Regions from separate parts of the Homo sapiens genome. Here region 2 is linked to region 1. The links are contacts of gene promoters, found by promoter capture Hi-C in human tissues and cell types (Jung and others, 2019). All regions are on one chromosome and are shown on one strand. Each heading gives the region's core, a stretch centred on a gene start or on the middle of the fragment in contact. The rest is flanking DNA. Distances are from core to core; before and after follow the strand shown.

The links. The method cuts DNA at HindIII sites, captures the fragments that hold promoters and counts their contacts. A contact is called where the count stands out against the background at its distance.
Region 2: a contact is called between a fragment that was not itself captured here and the fragment with the promoter of NF2 in region 1, in 1 of the 25 tissues and cell types used here (dorsolateral prefrontal cortex).

Annotation. Positions count from the first base shown.
Region 1 is chr22:29,600,416-29,606,582 of GRCh38, forward strand. It overlaps NF2 (NF2, moesin-ezrin-radixin like (MERLIN) tumor suppressor), which reads left to right and starts at 3,218. Exons shown (of 16, transcript NM_000268.4): 1 at 3,218-3,697. The coding sequence starts at 3,584. RefSeq lists enhancers at 2,604-2,733, 5,941-6,167 and a silencer at 2,984-3,563. The HindIII fragment of the contact is 17,440 bases long and covers 1-6,167 here.
Region 2 is chr22:29,975,208-29,981,374 of GRCh38, forward strand. MTMR3 (myotubularin related protein 3) reads left to right here. Exons shown (of 20, transcript NM_021090.4): 4 at 3,235-3,324; 5 at 3,729-3,845. Among named protein-coding and RNA genes, the nearest start is that of MIR6818, 29 kb to the right of the region's middle. RefSeq lists an enhancer at 4,523-4,572. The HindIII fragment of the contact is 4,354 bases long and covers 1,700-6,053 here.

The sequences.
Region 1 (6,167 bases), core at 1,968-4,467:
AGCCCCACTGAGTAGCTGAGACTGCAGGCACACTCCACCACACAGGCTAATTTTTTTTTCTTTTTTTTTGAGATGAAGTCTTGTTCTGTCACCTAGGCTGGAGTGCAATGGCATGGTCTCAGCTCACTGCAACCTCTGCCTCCTGGGTTCAAGCGATTTTCCTCTCTCAGCCTCTGGAGTAGCTGGGATTACAGGCGTGCGCCACCACGCCCGGCTAATTTTTTTTGTATTTTTGTAGAGACGGGGTTTCACCATGTTGGCCAGGCTAGCCTTGAACTCCTGATCTCAAGTGATCCACCTGCCTCCGCCTCCCAAAGTGCTGGGATTACAGGTGTGAGCCACCACACCTGGCACACACTGGCTAAATTTTTACTTTTTTTTGTAGAGATGGGGTCTTACTATGCTGCCCAGGATGGTCTCGAACTCCTGGCCTCATGTGATCCTCCAACCTTGGTCTTCCAAAGTGCTGTGATTACAGGTGTAAGCCACTGTGTCCAACCTGTGAATGGCACTTTTAATACCAGCAAAAGATTCTATCACATCGATTTTTATTCCTGGCCCTGACCTCCCTTCTGGGATTCAAACCCATATGTCCAGCTGGATGTCCTCCCAGGAACATTAAATTTGGCATTTGGGGCCAATTAGCCCAGTGCCTAGCACCTGGCAAGTCTTTTCATAAAAATGAGCTATTACCAATCATCAGTGTCGCTTTTTAGTCCCTGCTAGCTGATCCACCTCCTTTTGCTACTCCTCACTGGGTTCCCAGTGTCACGCATTTTCTTTTTCCTTTTTTTTTGAGACGGAGTCTCGCACTCTCGCCCAGGCTGGAGTGCAGTGGCGCCATCTCGGCTCACTGCAAGCTCCGCCTCCCGGGTTCACGTCATTCTCCTGCCTCCGCCTCCCGAGTAGCTGGGACTACAGGCGCCCGCCACCACGCCCGGCTAATTTTTTGTATTTTTAGTAGAGACAGGGTTTCACCGTGTTAGCCAGGATGGTCTCGATCTCCTGACCTTGTGATCTGCCTGCCTCCCAAAGTGCTGGGATTACAGGCGTGAGCCACTGGGCCCGGCCCGGTGTCACGTATTTTTATCAGCAGCCATTTGTTGTCCCTGTGGGGAGCCCAGAAAACCCAGCCCGGTTCTCCCACCTGCGGGGAAGAAATGAAGCAATGATAATGAAGACACTCCCATGCCAAGCCCATACTGCCCTGAGCAATCAGTTTTGGTGGGGAGAATTTGCTAGCAGAAGGCAGGACATAAAGTCCCCACAGCAGCCTCACTGGGTGTGGCAGCAAATCATTCCTGAGGCCTGGCCGGTGCTACCAGGCACAGCAGGGGTCCGTGCAGAAGAACTAGATTTATTCCATTAATATACCGTTACAGCAACAATGTCTGCTGAGTACTCCGGAACTGTAATTCACATTTCCTGAGGCTGTAGTAGGGAGAATTTGGAAGCAGGGCAGCACAGTGCTAACCAGCAGGCTCTGGGTGGGACAGACCTGGGTTTGAGTCCTAGCTTTGCCTTTCACTATCTGCATTATAGTCAGCGAGTGGCTCTATCATATCTCTCAGTATCTTCACCTGTGGAGTTGGGGGGGTGATGCTAATGTTAGCTAACATTTATGGGGTGATTATTGTTGTTAAAACTCAGTACACCGGGCGCGGTGGCTCACGCCTGTAATCCCAGCACTTTGGGAGGCCAAGGTGGGCAGATCACCTGAGGTCAGAAGTTTGAGACCAGCCTGGCTAACATGGTGAAACCCCGTCCCTACTAAAAATACAAAAATTAGCCGGGCGTGGTGGCGGGTGCCTGTAATCCCAACTACTGGGGAGGCTGAGGCAGGAGAATTGCTTGAACCCGGGAGGCGGAGGTTGCAGAGAGCCGAGACCGCCCCATTGTACTCCAGCCTGGGCAACAAGAGCGAAACTCTGTCTCAAAACAAAAAACAAACGAAAAAACACAGTAAATTGTCCCTATTTGACTACTAAGAGCTATTTTAAAATAGAATTTATTATCTAAGTACAGAAAGGTGTAATTATCCCCCCTACACCCGTTAGAACCCTTGATGACACTAAATAAATAATACATGAATACGGTTCAAAAATGGGCATCATAGAGTATAAAATAAAGAATGCTTTCATTTTCAACCCAAATTCAGCAATTTCATAGGATGCCAGGCTCAGCTCTAAAGCCTTATATGTATTCAGTGCGCTGAAATTCAACAACCTCACGAGGTAGGTATAACCAATAATAATTCTAGGCGGGGCGTGGTGGCTCACGCCTGTAATCCTAGCACTTCGGGAGGCCGAGGCGGGCGGATCACCTGAGGTTCGAGACCAGCCTGACGAACATGGAGAAACCCCGTCTCTAATAAAAATACAAAATTAGCCGGGCGTGGTGACGCATACCTGTAATCCCAGCTACTCGGGAGGCTGACGCCGGAAAATCGCTTGAACCCGGGAGGCGGAGGTTGCAGTGAGCCGAGATCGCGCCACTGCACTCCAGCCTGGGCAACAAGAGCGAAACTCCGTCCCAATAATAATAATAATTAATAATAATAATAATAACAATAATAATAATAATTCTAAAGGGAAGCAGAGGGATCTGGCGGGAAAGTGCCAGCAAACCTAACAGGCCTCCACAAGTGTCTTTAAAGTTTCATAGGGGTCGGTATATGTGATTAACTGCCAAAGAAGAATATTCGCCGTGTGTCCGAAACGCAGTCCCCTGGGGCGCCACACTCGGAGCCTACTTGAACCGAAGAGTCCCTCCCTGGGCCAACGAAGGACCCAATTCCCCTCGCCCCGGATCCAGCCTCTAAGTGGTTTCCCGGGTAAGGTCAGCAGAGGTCCGCCGCCTCAACCAGTCTTGTTAGAGTAGGCACAAAAGCATTCAGAGTGACTGCCACTGTAGCCACTCAACGCCGAGCCTAGGCCTGCTTTTTTTGCAGTTAGAGTGAAACTTTCCATTGGTGGAGTCACCCCAAAGGAGGCGGGACGGAGCGGGAAAGTCCTGCCTACCTTGGCCTTCCCAGCCAATCGCAGCATCTATGCGTCAGCCTCCGGTTCGGTTGCGCTGCGCGTAGTGGTCTGGGCGACCTGAGGGCGGGGCCGGGAGCAGGCCCCGGGCTGTGGGGAGGGTGCGCTTCCCGCGGGCGCGCGGAGTGAGGACGGTGACAGCCACGCGCGCGCGTACGCGCCCGATGCAGCGCGGCCCCGTGACCCTAGTCGGCCGCTGAGAGGCGCGCGGAGTCTGGGCCGCTGCCGTCTAGGGGTCCCGTCCCGAGGCGTCCCCGGCATCTCCGGCCCGAATCCCGGAGTGCCGGGTCGCGCCTGCACCGAAGGTCCCGGCTCCTGTGCCCTCCCTGCAGCCGTCAGGGCCCGTCCCCCAACTCCCCTTTCCGCTCAGGCAGGGTCCTCGCGGCCCATGCTGGCCGCTGGGGACCCGCGCAGCCCAGACCGTTCCCGGGCCGGGCAGCCGGCCACCATGGTGGCCCTGAGGCCTGTGCAGCAACTCCAGGGGGGCTAAAGGGCTCAGAGTGCAGGCCGTGGGGCGCGAGGGTCCCGGGCCTGAGCCCCGCGCCATGGCCGGGGCCATCGCTTCCCGCATGAGCTTCAGCTCTCTCAAGAGGAAGCAACCCAAGACGTTCACCGTGAGGATCGTCACCATGGACGCCGAGATGGAGTTCAATTGCGAGGTAACCGGCCGGCAGCCCCGACTGCTGCGGTGACAGTCGAGGTGGAAGCTCGAGAGGTTCTCTTTATATCATCTTATGGGTGTAGCTAGAGACGGGCAGAACCGGAAGGGCCAACTAGGCCCAAAACCTCATGTTAAAGATGATTGCTGCTTTTTTTCATAGGACTTTTGGGTTTTGGCATTTCCTGAAGGTTATTTTCATTCATTGTTATTGGAAGAAGCTGGATGCTCCTGTGATAGAAAATTCAGGATTTCAGTGTCAGGCTTAAGTTAGGCTTACGCTTAAAAGCTTGAAAGTTTATTCTTTCATTAGGTAATATTGTTATGTACCCAGGTATTAGAAGTTGCGTCTTGTTTATTGGAAAGCCAATACTTGTTTCCCTTTTCTAAAGCTTGCATATTCTGGGAAAAAAAACCCTTTGAAGAACGATATAACATCTCATACTTACTTTCCACATAGTTTCCAACATGATGATAACAGCTATCAATTGTTCAGTATTTTCAAAGTGCTAGACATTTGCACATTTAATCCTCAGAACAAACCCATTTATCTAGTAAATGGCAAGGTGGGGTTTTGAACCAAGCTCACAGCCCGTACAGTACTGCTTCTCAAGTAATTTAAGTTCTTGCTGCTAAAAGTGTGGTTTGTGGACCAGCAGCATTGGCAGCAGTAAGCAAGGGTTGGCATGCTTTTTCTGTACAGGACCACATAGTAAATATTTTCAACTTTGTAGACTAGAGAATCTCTGTTGGAGTTATTCAACTCTTCAACTCTACCATTGTAACACAAAAGCAGCCTTAGATAAGATCAGCTTCCAGCATGACAGCTTAAGGAACCCATTCCTCTGTAAAACTGGTGAAAATTCTTTTTTGTTTTGTTTCGTTTTGAGACAGAATCTCACTCTGTCACCGAGGCTGGCATGCAGTAGTGTGATCATGGCTTACTGCAACCCTGACCAACCTCCCTGGCTCAATCAGTCCTCCTGCCTCAGCCTCTCGAGTAGCTGGGACCACAGGCGTGTGCCACCACACCTGGCTAATTTTTTTTTTTTTTTTTTTTTTGAGACGGAGTCTCGCTCTGTCACCCAGAGTGCACCGGGCTAGAGTGCAATGGCGCGATCTTGTCTCACTGCCACCTCCACTTCCAGGTTCAAGTGATTCTCCTGCTTCAGCCTTCCAGGTAGCTGGGATTACAGGCGTGCGCCACCTCGTCTGGCTAATTTTTCTATTTTTAGTAGAGACAGGGTTTCACCATATTGGGCAGGCTGATCTCGAACTCCTGACCTCGTGACCAGCCGACCTGGGCCTCCCAAAGTGGTGGGAAAGTGGTGCGATTACAGATGTGAGCCACCCCGCCCAGCCTCACCTAGCTAATTTTTGTAAAGACAGGGTTTTGCCATGTTGCCCAGGCTGATCTTGAACTCCTGAGCTCAAGCAATCCACTCGCCTTGGCCTCCCAAAGTGATGGGATTACAGATGCAGCCACCACGCCTGGCCCAAAAATTCTTTTTTTAAAATCAACTATTTAAACCCTCCGGCAATGGTCCTGAGGGCAAACAACAAATGAAAAAACACCTATTCAAGAAAATCTACAAATTCGGTAAGAAAGATGAGAGGGTATGGTATTTGAACCAAGATCATTCCCTCCTTACTCACTCCTAGCTTAGTGAGGTGGAGCTTCTACTCCAGACTATTGCAAACTGTAATACCGGGCACTGCTCCCCCAGCTCCCAATCAAATGCTTTCTTCCCAGGAAAAGCAGGACATCAGCATTTCTCATCCTACCTAGAGCTACTTGTTGCTGAGGTTAAAACCTGTGTGAGTGCAATTGAAAGTTGGAGCTCTCTTTTTTTTTCTTTTGAGACGGAGTTTTGCTCTTGTTGCTCAAACTGGAGTGCAATGGTGTGATCTCGCCTCACCGCAGCCTCTGCTTCCCGGGTTCAAGCGATTCTCCCACATCAGCCTCCCAAGTAGCTGGGATTGCAGGCTTGCGCCACCATGTCTGGCTAATTTTGTATTTTTAGTAGAGGCAGGGTTTCTCCATGTTGGTCAGGCTGGTCTTGAACTCCCTACCTCAGGTGATCCACCTGCCTCGGCCTCCCAAAGTGTTGGGATTATAGGCGTGAGCCACTGTGCCCTGCGAAAAGTTGGAGCTCCCTTCTTCCACCTAGTCCCTACTTGTGGAACAGGACTGTACCTTGGACATGACATACTGAAATTACTGGTGCCCCAATTGCTCATCCCCCAGTTCTTGCAGGCTGAGCCTCAGGTTATTGCGGTCCCCTGCCTCCTTCCACCAAGTGCTCAGTTCCTAGAGTGAGGGTATTTCTCAGAGAGAATCTTTCCAGGGTCCTTCCCCACAGCTCCAGAGCCTTGGCTCCGGGATTTTGCCTCAGGAGAGAAGCAGGCCCTAAAACAGATAGCTCCTAATCTCTTTCCAATGGCAGTGACTTCATTTGCAACACAGTGTG
Region 2 (6,167 bases), core at 2,627-5,126, 380 kb after region 1:
GTTTATGTGGGTTATGTCTGTTTATACCATATTAGAAAATAAAACTGAGAAATCTTTAAAATGCTCATAAATTCATTTAAAAGTAACAACAAACCAATTATATAGTAGCATAAATAACATTTTTTGATGAAAAATATTTTTCCTCATCCAAAGATAGTTTTAGTGTTAACATTTTTGCAAATCTCTTTAATATTTGGCTTAATAGATGACAGGTAAATTCTCATATCTACTTCGGCATTCAGTCCGTTACAATGTTTTCTTTGAAATATATAAAGAAAATGCAGCCTCAGGCAGATACGTGGTTAGAAAAGTAGTTAAAAAAAGGAAGAGTATTTTAAGTTTTCCCAGATAATTTATATTTTTCTTTAATACCAAACCAAAACTTGACAAGTGATGTGTTTTTTTGTTTTTGACACAAGGTCTTGCTCTATTGCCCAGGCTTGACCGTAGTGGCGCAATCACAGCTCACTGTAGCCGCTACAGTGCACCTCAGGTGCAGGTGATCCTCCCACCTCAGCCTCTTAAGTATCTGGGACTACAGGCATGCGCCACTGTGCCCATCTAGTTTCTCTATTTTTTGTAGAGATGGTGTCTCACCATGTTGCCCAGGCTGGGCTTGAACTCCTGGGCTCAAGCGATCTGCCCACTGTAGCCCCCCAAAGTGCTGAGATTACAGGCATGAGCCGTGTACCTGGCCAGTGGTGGTTCTTTAAAGGTTAGTTGCAGTGTAGAATCTGAAACCATATCAGTGAACTTTTTGTATTATATTACATTAAAACCATTAGTCTGTCTTGTACTTTGAGTGAATCTTTTATCCACATATGATTTTGTAACATGCATTGGTCATTAGGAAAATAATGGGTTCGTTGATTGAGGCAGATCTTCAAAAGTTGACATTTTATTATAGTGTGTGTTTTTTTTTTTTTTTTAAATCACACTTGGTAATACCTTCACTTTAAAGATAAAAGTTGTAAGTACTAGGAAGCTATAAAGTTCATGGTGGGAGATGAGAGGTTTTCCAAAATCTAATCTTTGCACAAAAGCTTTATTATTGACAACTAATACTATCTTTTGTTGTTACTGTTTGTTTTTTTCCTAATAGTGTCTTTTGGAAAAAAGACCTGCCAAATGTCCAAGTCTGCATTACCATAGTTTTTCCATCAGTTGTTCTTCCAATTAAGAATGATACTCAATGAAAAAAAATGGCTAGTTCATCTCTTAATTGAAGCATTTGCACAAGTGCTTTACTTTGTGACACCGTAATATTGCACCATACATCAGAGGTGTTTTACTTGTATTTCCTCTGTAAAAAAGACTTCTACTTAAGGGTCAGGATTTAATAAATAGAATTTATAATATTTCCTTGCTTTATCAAGGTCATTCTTATGAAATTGGCACCACTGTCTCAATTGTGCTAAGGTACCAGCAGTTTTACCTACCAGGTTTTTTTGCACTATTAGTATAGATGTCAATACAGTGAAGAAAGGCAATAATACCGTAATATTATTGGGAAGGTTTTGACCTCGCAGGGCCCCTGTAAGCATCTCAGAGTCTGTGGACTTCATTTTGAGAATCATGCTAGTGTAGAGTATTACCAGTTTATGATTATGGTTGCTGTTAGTAAAACCTTAAGTGTTGTTTATAGATAAGAAGAAAAACTCTTTTTGGGGGAAGACTTACAAAATTATTGGAATTGTGTTAAGTAGTGTACACAGAAGCAACCAGTAACCACTGGTTATAATTCTTAATGCTGTCAGTTGAACATGATGTGGCTTTTGCTCTTTTAAAAATTGCTGTGTGGGGCCAGTCTTGGTGGCTCACACCTGTAATCCCAGAACTTTGGGAGGCTAAGGTGGGAGGATTACTTGAGCCCAGGAGTTTGAAACCAACCTGGACAACATAACGAGACCTTGTCTCTACTGAAAATAAAAAAAATTAGCCTGGCATGGTGGTGGGCGCCTGTGGTCCCAGCTACCTGGGAGGCTGAGGCTGGAGGATCACTTGAGCCCCGGAGTTGGAGGTTACAATTAGCTGTGATTGTGCTGCTGCACTCCAACATGGGTGACAGAGCAAAACCCTGACTTAAAAAAGAAAAGTGCTGTGTAAACAGATTCTATTATAATTTAGTCAGGCTTTGTGATAGATGACATTTCTCTCATGTCTTCCTATACCATAAAAATTCATAATGCAAAATATTACTTTTTAATACAAATTGTAATTTACATGTCATCTAGATGAGAATTTATTGCTTCCTCTTTTGAAATTGTCTTAACAGAAATCTATTTTGTAATATAAGGCAGAGTAAATGAAGGATAGTCTTTCATATATTTTCAACTTGGGAAATTCAGTTCTTAAGCTTACTTTTTCTTAGAAATTGTTTTCAAGCTTTCTATTATGAAAATTTCACATATAACCAGAGTAGACACAATGGTAGAGATAATGAACTCTCACCCAGTTTCATGAATTACTAATTCATAGATAGTCCTGTTTCACTTATGTCCCGCTTCTTCCTTACTCTTGCCCCAGTTATTTTGAAGCAAATTTCAAATGTCACCTTTCATTTTTAAATATTTCAGTATGTATCTCTCAAATAATTTAAGATCGTAACTTAAAGAGAAAAAAGCATTATATCTTGGTTTCTCTTAAAAGTAGTGTGGGGCTGGGCACAGTGGCTCATGTCTGTTATCGCAGCACTTTGGGAGGCTGAGGCAGCTGGATCACCTGAGGCCAGGAGTTGGAGACCAGCCTGACCAACATGGCAAAACCCCGTCTCTACAAAAATAGTAGCCAGGCGTTATGGCACGCACCTGTAGTCCCAGCTACTCAGGAGGCTGAGGCAGGAGAATCGCCTGAACCCAGGAGGCAGAGGTTGCGGCGAGCCAAGATTACACCACCGCACTACCTGTGCACTACACTACCAGTGCACCACTGCCTGGGTGATAGTGAGATTCTGTCTCAAAAAAAGAAAAAAAAGTATTAAGAAGCTGTTAGTGCCTAATAGAAATATTCTAACCTCTTTGACATTTTTTTTGCATCAATGTGTTTTCAGACTAGATGTAACTAATGTATTGGATAGAAAAACTTTTTAAGATCAATATTGTTTCCTTGAGCTTTTCTGCCTGTTCACCTTGGTCTTTGTACTTTCATTGTGATTATGCTAGCAGATATGGCAGAAAAACCAAATATGAATGATTAGAAGCTTTGAAATTATTTTAAGGTTTTGGACTTTTCCAGGATGAAGAGACTCGGCACAGCCTTGAGTGCATCCAGGCCAATCAGATCTTTCCCAGGAAGCAGCTGATCCGGGAGGATGAGAATCTTCAGGTAATTATAGGCCACTTTTAAATGTAAAATATTTATTTAGCATTAACTGTATAGCAGAGTTAATGGATTTAAGTGTAACGTACTATATTATATATATATATAACATACATGTAGTAGAAATGCAAGCTGGAAAACATCTCATTTTAGCAAGACTTATTTCCTGAGAATCCACTGTTTAAGATGATCTTCTCTGTATCATTCCTTTAGTAGTTCAGAATTTGAATAACTAGATATATTTGAATTAGGTGGGTATAAACCCATCCTCTTTAGCTTCCTTATCTACTTATGTGCTGTGTTTTCAACTTCAGTGGCAGAGGATTTACCATCCATTCAGCCAACTGATGTTTGAAGCTTTTTTTTTTTTAACTGCTTCAGAACTCTGAAGGGTTTCTTTCATTTCGAAGGTTCCTTTCCTTGAACTTCATGGAGAGAGCACAGAGTTTGTGGGCCGTGCCGAGGATGCCATCATTGCCCTTTCCAATTACAGACTTCACATCAAGTTCAAGGAGTCTCTTGTTAATGTAAGTGATTACCAGCTGTTCTCCCTCTAAGGTAAATGGAGAAAGTAAGTCAAAAAACTTAATGCTCTCAAAGAGAGGAGAGGCATACAGAATTGGGAGAGAAAGCATTATGTGCTCTGCTTTTCTCACTTAATTTAGCACTCAAGGAACACTGGCTTGGCCAGGCGCGGTGGCTCACGCCTGTAATCCCAGCACTTTGGGAGGCCAAGGCAGGCAGATCACGAGGTCAGGAGATCGAGACCATCCTGGCTAACACGGTGAAACCCCATTTCTACTAAAAATACAAAAAATTAGCCGGGCGTGGTGGCAGGTGCCTGTAGTCCCAGCTACTCAGGAGGCTGAGTCAGGAGAATGGCATGAACCCGGGAGGTGGAGCTGGCAGTGAGCCAAGATCACGCCACTGCACTCCAGCCTGGGTGACCAGAGCAAGACTCCATCTCAAAAACAAACAAACAACAACAACAAAACACACTAGATCAGCAAGCAGCTCTTATGCTTGATTTAAAATGATGTGTGTAGTTGTCAGCTGAGGTGTCCATTGTTTAGTTTAACAGTGAATGATTTGCATTAGGTAATGCTGTATCATTAAGCTTTATAAAGGTATAAAGGCTGAATGGGCTTTTATTCTGCAATCTTTAGTAGTTACCAACTGCCTCAGTTGAGATAATTCCCTTGGCCTTAATGTCAAAAGATGAGATGCACTTTGAGCTCACTGCAGACTCTCATTACAGCATGAGGTTACTCTAATGACTCCTTGGTGGTATAAGTGTAGATGTTAAGTATAATGTTGATTTGCATAATGGACTATGTATTACTGAAGAAAAGGAAGCCTCTTGATTCTCAAGAGTACATTTACCCTTTTCAGTTATGAATGTCCTCTCAGTGAACTGGTTCTTCCAGTGCTCTGCTATCATTAGCCTTAAATGAAACGAATAAAGGCTTGAAAATTCATGTACTTACAGCAAATGCCTTCTTCCTTCTTTACTTGCCAGTGTTGTGGCTTTCTACACTCCACTTCCAGCACAGAGAAGTGTATTATGACACGTTAAAACAGCTCAGGACTGTAATTCCATGCAGACTGTGTTTTGGCTTCATTTTGGGATTCTTTGAAATCTTGTTCATTCGTTTTACTCAGCAATTAAAAAAAGACTCAGTGGCTGTCATTTTTTTTTTGGTAGTTGACATTTTTTACTTCTTATTATCATTCTTCTTTGTAGTTAAGCATTTATGTCCAGGAGCAGTTTTGGCCTGAATCCCTTCTGGCTTCTAGATTTGGGCCATGATTATAGCAGTTACATCAGTTTTCTGTCTATCAGCTAAAGATACACACCAGATTCATTAAGGAAAGAGGCAATGCTGTTCTTTCATACTATGTAGCACTCTGTTCAGAAGGGTCCACTTGGATTTGAGTAGTCGTGATGGGGAGGGGAAAGGGGGGAAACACCTATAAAATCCCAGCAACTGAGAATTCCCCACCAGCTACTGTGGAAGTAATGATAGTAGTGTTTAGTAGAACTGCCCAATTTAACTTTGTGTTCTTTCAGTGTTTGAATTGCTGGAATTAAATTATAATTAAATTGCATGTGAGAATGATAGTTTCATATCATTGCATTTTCTCATATCATCCTGTATTTATCAGTTTATTGGTTGATGGCCAAGTGTTTCAGAGACTATTTTAGAACTATTTGGGAATAAGGTCTGCTGGAAAGCAAGCAGGAAAGAAAGAAAGAAAGAAACTGATCATGTCATTCATCAGCTTAAAGCCCTTCAGTGTTTCTTCACTACTTCTATGATGAAGATCAGATTGTTTAGCATGACATGAAGCTGTCTGACAACGTGGCAGGGACCAAGGATCACAGCTTCCCTCCTTTCCCCATTATCACATTTTTACTTGTAAAAGCAGCCTCTTTGTACTATTCAGCCATACCTCACACCTCTGTGTTCTCTTTTCGGCCCAGGAACTTCTGTTCATCTGTCAAAATTCAGTTCAGGTGATAACTTCTCCTGTGAAGCCTTTCTTAGTCCCAGTTCCCTCTGTGACAGTTAACTACACTCTTTCTTTGCTTTGTCTTTATCTTGTACATTCTTTTATAACATTTACCAAATAGGTTGTAATTTTTGGTTAATTGTTTTTGTGTCTTCAAGATCCAGCATGTCTCCTGGTGCCACAATATTCAGTAAATATTAAATGAATTGAAGTTAATGTGGGTTTGAAGTGGGCATTAGAACCTTTTCCCCCTTTGGTGTTTAAAGCTCATTTTAAAACAGTACACTTCTGTGTGAATAGGCTGTGGCTTAATTGTCTCTAAGGATAGCTGTGTG